2 separate regions of the Homo sapiens genome follow, and region 1 is linked to region 2. The links are contacts of gene promoters, found by promoter capture Hi-C in human tissues and cell types (Jung and others, 2019). All regions are on one chromosome and are shown on one strand. The core of a region is centred on a gene start or on the middle of the fragment in contact, and the rest is flanking DNA. Distances in the headings are between cores, read along the strand shown.

The links. Contacts are between HindIII fragments. The study calls those that stand out against the background at their distance.
Region 1: a fragment that was not itself captured here is called in contact with the fragment with the promoter of ANKK1 in region 2 in 2 of the 25 tissues and cell types used here (mesenchymal stem cells and thymus).

Annotation. Positions count from the first base shown.
Region 1 is chr11:113,552,972-113,557,333 of GRCh38, forward strand. No RefSeq gene overlaps it. Among named protein-coding and RNA genes, the nearest start is that of DRD2, 80 kb to the left of the region's middle. RefSeq lists an enhancer at 744-1,245. The HindIII fragment of the contact is 3,073 bases long and covers 19-3,091 here.
Region 2 is chr11:113,385,712-113,389,467 of GRCh38, forward strand. ANKK1 (ankyrin repeat and kinase domain containing 1) reads left to right here and starts at 2,068. Exons shown (of 8, transcript NM_178510.2): 1 at 2,068-2,358. The coding sequence starts at 2,174. The HindIII fragment of the contact is 9,665 bases long and covers 1-3,136 here.

The sequences.
Region 1 (4,362 bases), core at 305-2,804, 170 kb after region 2:
GGCACGTGCCTGTAGTCCCAGCTACTTGGGATGCTGAAGCAAGAGGATCATTTAAGCCTGGGATGCAGAGGTTGCAGTGAGCTGAGATCCTGCCATTGCACTCCAGCTTGGGTGACAGAGCAAGACCCTGTCTCAAAAAACATAAAAAAATAAAATAAGCAAATGAATAAGATACCATCAGGCAGCAATAGTGCTATGACTATAATGAAAACGAAATGTGGCAGGAGGCGGTTTTGGGCATGGGGGTGGGGTAGCAATTAAATCGGTTGTCAAGGAAGAATGGAGCCCAAACATAAATGACAAAAAGTTGCCATCCATGGAGAGATCACATCTAGTAAGCTCATGGCACGTGCACTCAAGCTTCCCAGGCTGTTTCTTGCAGATGTGGAAACCGAAGCTACAAGAGCAGCAGGATTGGTGTGGTCCGGAAGGATTCCTGTGGTGTGGCATGGTCCGGGAGGATTCCCAAGTCAGTTCTCTCTGGCTCCAAAGCTTAGACTCTTTCTTTCACACCCGCACATTCCAGTCGTTTCACAGAAGGATGACTCAGAAATTCCCTCAGAAATTTAAAACACCGTCTTAGTCTGAAGTGTTTGGTTTGGGGCTGGAACACATACTAAAATTTTGACTAGATATTACAGCATCAAAAACTGCTCTGATGACCAGATGACTGAAATTATTAAATTTTGCACTTTAAAGAATGAACTAGTCTTTTTTCTTAAAATATTTCATATTTTATTTCTAAAGGAGATAAAAGAGAAGCTTTCAGCCTGCTACTTTCAAGCATCTCATCTGCAGACAAAATCTTCATGCATAATATTTATTCCCAATAAATGAAAAACCAAAATGAAATGCACTTTTTCTGTTTTAATATTGGTTTTTGAAGTACTAGAGACACGTTGATATGCTATATGAGAATTTTGAGTAGCTACATGCAGCTTGCTGATTTGTTCAAGGTGATTGTGAGGCAAACAATTCTCATTGTCTTTTTTTAATTTCAATGTGAGTGTTCCTTATACTTCCTCTCTTCAACCAGTGATCCATTAGGAGTAAAAATTAAACAAAATATGACTAATCATAGGAACAGTTCCACCCACTGGGGGGCGTTCACACCCACCAGAGCATGGAGTGGTGTTTAGCTGAAGGACAGACCCCTACATATGCTCACTCCATATGCACCTGCAGCAACCCAACTGTTCCTTTTAGAGGGAAGAGAATATTTAAATAAGCATTCTGTTCATTGACTGTTATGAGCTAGGAGACAGGGACTTTAAATGTCTTTAATGAGAAGGCCCAACCCTATTGCTCAGGCCCAGGCCCAGCTGGCGGTGAGTGAGGCTTAGAGGATGAAAAATATAAAGAGGCACCACTCTCAGGGCTGACCCCACACAGGAGCAATTCTGAGAGTGGGTGCTGCCTTAAGATATAGGAGTTAAAAACAAATTATTTAGGCAGATAGTGAGGGTAAGGAAGTCCTCACTAAGGTTTTCCTTTTAATGAAAAGCAGCCCCAAAATCATTTTCTTTTCTAACAAAGAGCAGCCTGTAAAATCGAGCTGCAGACATAGAAAGGGAAGCTGGAAGTTTGCACGGGTGAATGCCGGCAGTTATGTCAATAGAAATAGGCTACCTGGGACTAGGCATGATCAAAATTTGGCTCCATCTTCCTGTCTCTTTGCCAGCCACATGTACAATAAGGAGCAGGCAAGATCCTGGCCAAGTGGAAAGCCCATTTGCATAATAAGATCAGGGTGGGGCTACCAGCCTTTCACTTCGTGCTATGTATATGTCACACCTTGTGGAACTAATCTGTGGGCCCTATGTAAATCAGACACCACCTGCTCAAGCCTGCCTATAAAATCTGCTGTGGTATGCCTCAGGCCAGTTTTTCCCTTTCAGATGCCCAGATGTCCATCTCTCTCCTTTCTTCTGCCTATTAGACTTTCTGCTCCTTAACCCATCCATGTGTGTCCGTGTCCCTAATCTTCTTGGCGCCAAATGACGAACCCCAGGTATTTACCCCAGACAATGATGCTGCTTCACTTATGTTTTGTACCCTACTCACCTCCCCCAGGGCCTGGTCCCATCCCCCTACACCTCCCCACACCACCCCCCACCCCCAACACACACACAAACTGCAACTCAATCTTTCCATAAGTCAGTGGTTAGAAATAAAACAGCTGCTTGCTCCTAAAACCTCCCAAACCAGAGCTGCATTGAACTTGCTGGGCCTGTGATGGGGGTTTGTGCACTGGGTGCTGGTGCTCTTGGCTTGTGTTGGCTCATGTTAGTCACCACCACCTGTGTCTCTCTGATGTTGGGTTTTACTGTATCCTTATGATAACTTGGGTGTTAACAAAAAAGTTTTCTTTTTTTTTTTTTTTCCAAGAAATTCTCTTTTATCTTGCAGAAAGAAAAGCACTTTAGGAGGAAAACTCAAAACAACAGACGTCACTGATGGTTGAGACTCCCCTACAACTGAAACCAGTTTTTAAATGATGGCTCTCTTAAGCCAGAAGGAATTCCCAGAGGCCCTCAGGTCCAGCCTCCAGCATCCAGCTAATTGTAGCTCAGCAGCTGCATCTCGGGCTGGGCAGCAGGGAGCTGCTGCTTCCTCCTTGCAGTATACTGGGAAGTCTGTGTCACTGCAGAATGCAGGAAATAATATTTACCTTATACATTTGACAGGTTGTTAGGAAGACCTGAATAAAGTAATCTACATTGTACTACTTGAGCGCTATAAAATGAAAGAAGTTACTTAAAATCTCTAGGAGTAGGCGGGCGCAGTGGCTCATGCCTGTAATCCCAGCACTTTGGGAGGCCAACGCAGGTGGATCACTTGAGGTCAGGCATTCAAGAGCAGCCTGGTCAACATGGCAAAATCCCATTTCTATTTTAAGAAATTACAAAAAATTAGCTGTGCATGGTGGCATGTGCCTATAATTCCAGCTACTTGGGAGGGTGAGGTGGGAAGATCGCTTGAGCCTGAGAGGTGGCAGTTGCAGTGAGCCAAGATAGCGCCACTGCTCTCCAGCCTGGACAACAGAGTGAGACTCTGTCTCAAAAAATATATATAAAATAATAAAATAAAATCTCTAGGAGTAGTTAAACTTTACATCTCTTCATTACTATTTCAGCATATAGTCAACTGTGTGGAGAAAGTTTCTCCCTACTTCTAATTAGCTTCCCGTGCTGCATATCTTATCTGTCCTCTGAAGGTAGATAAAACCATGTTTGAATCCAAACTCCACCATTCTTAGCTGTGTGACTTTAGGTGAGTCGTCTAACCTCCCCAAGCACCCCATTTCCTTATATGCAAAGTGAGAATGCAATGTCTCCTTCAAAGGGCTATTATGAGGGTTGAGTGCAACAATGCAGATTAAGTACAGGGAACACTGGCATTGTTCATAAACAGTCTCGCTGCCAAAACAAAACATCAGAGTTACTCAAGATCCATTTCATCCTCTTGTTCTTCTCCAGAGTTAACACTCCTGTTGCCTCTAGCTCTTCCCAATTCTCCAATCCCTGATTTTTAAACTAGTGATTCTTGAGTTCTTTAGGGTTCTCAACGTTATTAAGAATCAGATGAAAATTTCAGACCCTCTCCACCGAAAATTTCAATGGCAAACTTTTGCATACAATTTCAGGAGGCTCAGGAACCTTTCAAAGCCCATCCATGTGCCCCTTCCCTGGTGAGGAGAGTGGACCCCAGATACGAAACTCAGTTTTGAGAATCCCCCTACGGCCCCCACCCCCTCAAAGGCAGCATCCCAGAAGCCGCCCTCTCTGCAGTTTCTGGTTCCTGCTGGCCTCCTACCCTAAGGATGCAAATTATCAGCAGGCCAAGGCATCTTGGAGGAGCCTGAGGTTTAGGAAGAAAGAATCAAGCTAAGAAGTGGACCTCAGCACAGCCTGAACCTGGCAGAACGAAGGCCCAATTACCAACTTCAGACTTTCAAAATGTCAGGTCCAGTTTATTGGAAATCTTTCTCAGCTAAGAGGCATTCACAGAACCAAGAGGAGAAGTTGAGACAGAGGCAGGAGCTACCATGGCTGGCAGATGGGAGGCATCCTGGAACTTACAACTGATGCAGGACAGGCAAGCCCCAAAGTAGGGCTTGGCCCGCCAGGGTTCTTGGCTTCACCCAGGAAAGAACTCAAGGGCAAGCCGCTGGCAGGGTAAAAGAAAACAGCTCTATTGAAGCGGCAATGTTGCAGCTCCAGTGGTGTTACTGCCCCGTGACTGCTCCAGCAGAGCAGGGCTACCCCACAGGCAGTGTGCTGAGGGTAGCAACTCAGGGCAGTTTTGCAGTCATATTTATACCCATTTTTAATGACATGTAGATTAGAGGGTGGTTTATGC
Region 2 (3,756 bases), core at 818-3,317:
GTATTTTGTTCGGGATTCTGGCAACATGCCTTGAGCCCTGGGTGTCCCCTCTTCTAGGAATGATGCTTTCTTCAGTATTCCTGTGACAGTCTCTGCAGGCAGACAATGGCAGCTTCTGGTTACTTCCTCTCCCTGGAGAGCCACTTCAGGTATAAGTGGATCAAGGGGAACTGCTGAAATGACTCAGGCCATTCACCCTTGGTATTTCCTCCAGGAGCTGAGATAGGTCTCGCTGAATGTCAAAGATCGGGCCTCAGTCAAACTTCCGCAGAGCTGGGTGGCTGGTCACCTTCCCAGTCTCCATGTTCACCCTCCCAGTAGAAGGTATGAAACATCCTCTTGACCTCCTGGTCTCCCTGATGACAATGTCCTTTATCACCTTCCAAACTTCTCTGGCAGAGGCTTTAAACTTGGGCAGGCAGGGCTACTCCAGAGACAATGGGTTCTGTTATGCCCTGTCTTGCTCCAGCCAAAGCAAGCTGGGGGCCTCCCTCTGACATATGTTTGGGGGATACGTCCTGCTCCTGATGCAGTTTCCATCATCTCCACCCTCTTCCAGGGAGCATGACTCTCTCTCTTCCTTTTTTGTATTCATAAAAGGCTACTCCCTGATCCTCCCCTGGCCAACCATTTCCATAGAAACTAAGAGACTTGAGTTTGAATATCAACTACCACTTACTAGCTATGTGTCCATTGATTACTTATTGTCTTGAAGCCAGTTTCCTCATCTGTGAATAGAAGATGTTGACCTCATAACATTGTTGCAAGATAAACAGGATAATATATGTAAAGCAATGCAGTAACTGAAATAGTCACTGATCCTGGAACAAAGTGAGTGTTCAATTAGTAGTGGCTATCACTAGTTTCTATGACAACTGTCTCCAGGCCCAATCTTTGATCCTTAATCTGCTTGCCAGAATTCATCCTGGAAGTTGCAGGTAAGTTGTTACAGAGGGAGCAAGTTCTCCAGCTTCCACAGGGAGTCTCTGTTTGCCTATCATGCCTACACTGTTCCCTGGGAGTCTGGTGGGCTTGTGGCATGGACGAGGGGCTCTGCAGGTTTGGGCTGAAGGCAAGGCACTTCCTTGTCTGGTAGGTAGGCTCCTCAAACCTAACAGTGATCACTCTGAGGGCTCCTTGTGGACTTACTCAGCTGTAGGCAAATAGTGGCTGACTCTGCACTCCGTGGCCACAGTTCCTCCAGGTATGCCTGTCTCTGGGCAATGGCCCACTTGGTCAGTGCCCCTGGGGAGACCTGTCTGTTCAAGCACTTGTCATTTTCCCTGCTCTGAGGGTCTCCAAGGTGAGAGGGCAATCCCATGGACCCAGGACCCAGGGGAACCTCCAAGCTCAGCACTGGTCAGGCTCCAGCTAGAGCCTCCTCTCATCCCTGGCAACAAACTGCCCCTAGTAACTGCGCCAAGGAGGCCACCTCCCCCGTGGCCACCCCGAGGCTGGGGTCCATCCCTCTGAGGTTGGATAGAGCGCAGCCCAGGAAGGGAGTCCCCTGCAGACAGGAGCCCAGCCTCCCCCGCAACTCTGTCCCTGCTGACCCCTCCTTGGTAACCTATAGCACACCAAGGCTGGCTAACAAACAAACAAACAAAACCCCAACAAGAACAAAGGAAACATGAAACCAGTCAGACCAACAGATTCAGACCAGAAAATCCCCATTAAAATTGTTTGAGCCCCATACTTGCTGGATAGGGGCAGGGGTCCAGGCCTGAATCCTTCATAAACCATAAAACCTTGAATGCACTGAAGGAATGCATAAACCGATTTCACTTAGCGCTGGGCCTAAATAAACTGGATCCAACTTCTCAGGCTGGACTTCTTCCAGCTTCGGGACACCTTCTCCCAGCATCCCTCCCTAGGGGGAACTGGGGAAAATCAAAGGCTGAGACAGGGGAAATGCGAGGGCTTCGGAGGGACATACCCTCTTCCCCAGGCCCAGGTCGCTCCATCCCTGCTGGGGCCTCAGGGCTCATGTCTGGGATTTCCCCACCTTTGCGGGGCAGGAGCGGCTCCTCTTGGGCGGGGAAGGAGGCAGGGCCGGCTCGTCTCCCCATTCCCCTCTCCCGGACCCGAGGAGCAGGAAGCGGCGGCTCCTTCGGCCACCCAGGCAGCAGCCACAGCGGGGAGTGCGCGGCGCGGGGACAGGAAGAGAGGGGCAATGGCTGCCGACCCCACCGAGCTGCGGCTGGGCAGCCTCCCCGTCTTCACCCGCGACGACTTCGAGGGCGACTGGCGCCTAGTGGCCAGCGGCGGCTTCAGCCAGGTGTTCCAGGCGCGGCACAGGCGCTGGCGGACGGAGTACGCCATCAAGTGCGCCCCCTGCCTTCCACCCGACGCCGCCAGGTACTGCCAGCCTCGCCCTCCCCTTTCTCGGAGGAGAAACTGAGGCCCGGCAAGCTTTGGGCCCAGGGAGCTTGCGAGGAAGGAGTGGGCTGAGTTTGGGGCTGAGGACTGTCCCCCGCGGTATTTCTGAATTCCACCCAGTAGCCTGAGCCTCCCAGGCACACCCATACCTGTCTCCCTAACCAAAATAGAGTTGGCACATAATACCTGTTTGTAGACTCAACAGAGGTCAAAGGCAAGCGGGAACTACCTACCAAAGACGCCTTTATCCCATCTGACCTTCCGAACTTGTCCTGCCTGCTTCCATCCTTCTCTCCAGCGCCTTCTTCCCCCGGTGTCCTGTGGCAATAACTGCTCTTGACCGCTCTCTGCCATCCTCCTACCCACCCCAGCTCTCAGGGCAGGGCTGAGCATCCTGGGAGGCTGTGGCACTTTGCTCAGATCTGCAGGGAATCATGTTCTCTCTTCCCACGGTGGCGGGAGGGAGGAGGCCCCTCCCAATCAGTGCAGGCTGAGGAGGTCAGGGGATGGAGACTGCCCGGCCTGATGGCCTGTCCAGGCCCTTGGAGGGTCAAGTCTGGAGTTCTCTCATCTCTGTTTTTGTTTTTGTCCCTTGCTGTCATGCGCACTACAGCGACGCCTTGACATGCCCCTATTTTTCTCTTCCTACCTCTTTCCTACGTTTCCATTATTCTCTGTCTTCCCACTGATTTGGAATCCAGTCTCATTCCCACTGGAGTTGCATATACTAGCTGTGTGCTTGCACCTTGCAGCCATGAAGAAGACACTCGGGATGTTAAACCTGAGCATGATAACCATGTCCTCCTCCCAAGGCTCTGGGACATCAATTAGAGAGTCCGGGACGGGGGTCTCTCTGACTGGCATCTGGCTTGGATGCTATCTGTGGTTCTCTAGGATTACCATGCAAACTCTTAAGATACAGCCTCAGGTGCCACACACTCAGTTCCCAGGCCTTCCCCCACCTTATGAGGAGAGGAAAAATAAGATCGCCTAAGGCCCACTCACCTTCCTCCCTCAACATCTGCCTGTTGGTTTTGGAGGAGGGTCAGAGTATGCTAGGATTTGTCTAAATCATTTATAGCCTTTTGAATATAGAACGAAAGGAAACAGATGGCAGTGACATGATTACACTGTGAGACATTGATGCTAACTCCTGCCACTTTCCCTTCCCAAGTTCTGGGAATTCCCTGGGTGGAGGGGGTAAGATAATTAATGGTAATTAAGACTTAGTATGTATGGATTACTATACTAGGAGCTTTACGTGCATTACTTTACTAGATCCTCTTTCCAGCTATTCATTCATTCATCCACTTGACAAATGCTTACTGCTCTTCTACTATGTGTCAGGCACTGTTCTACACCCTGGGATTAACGATG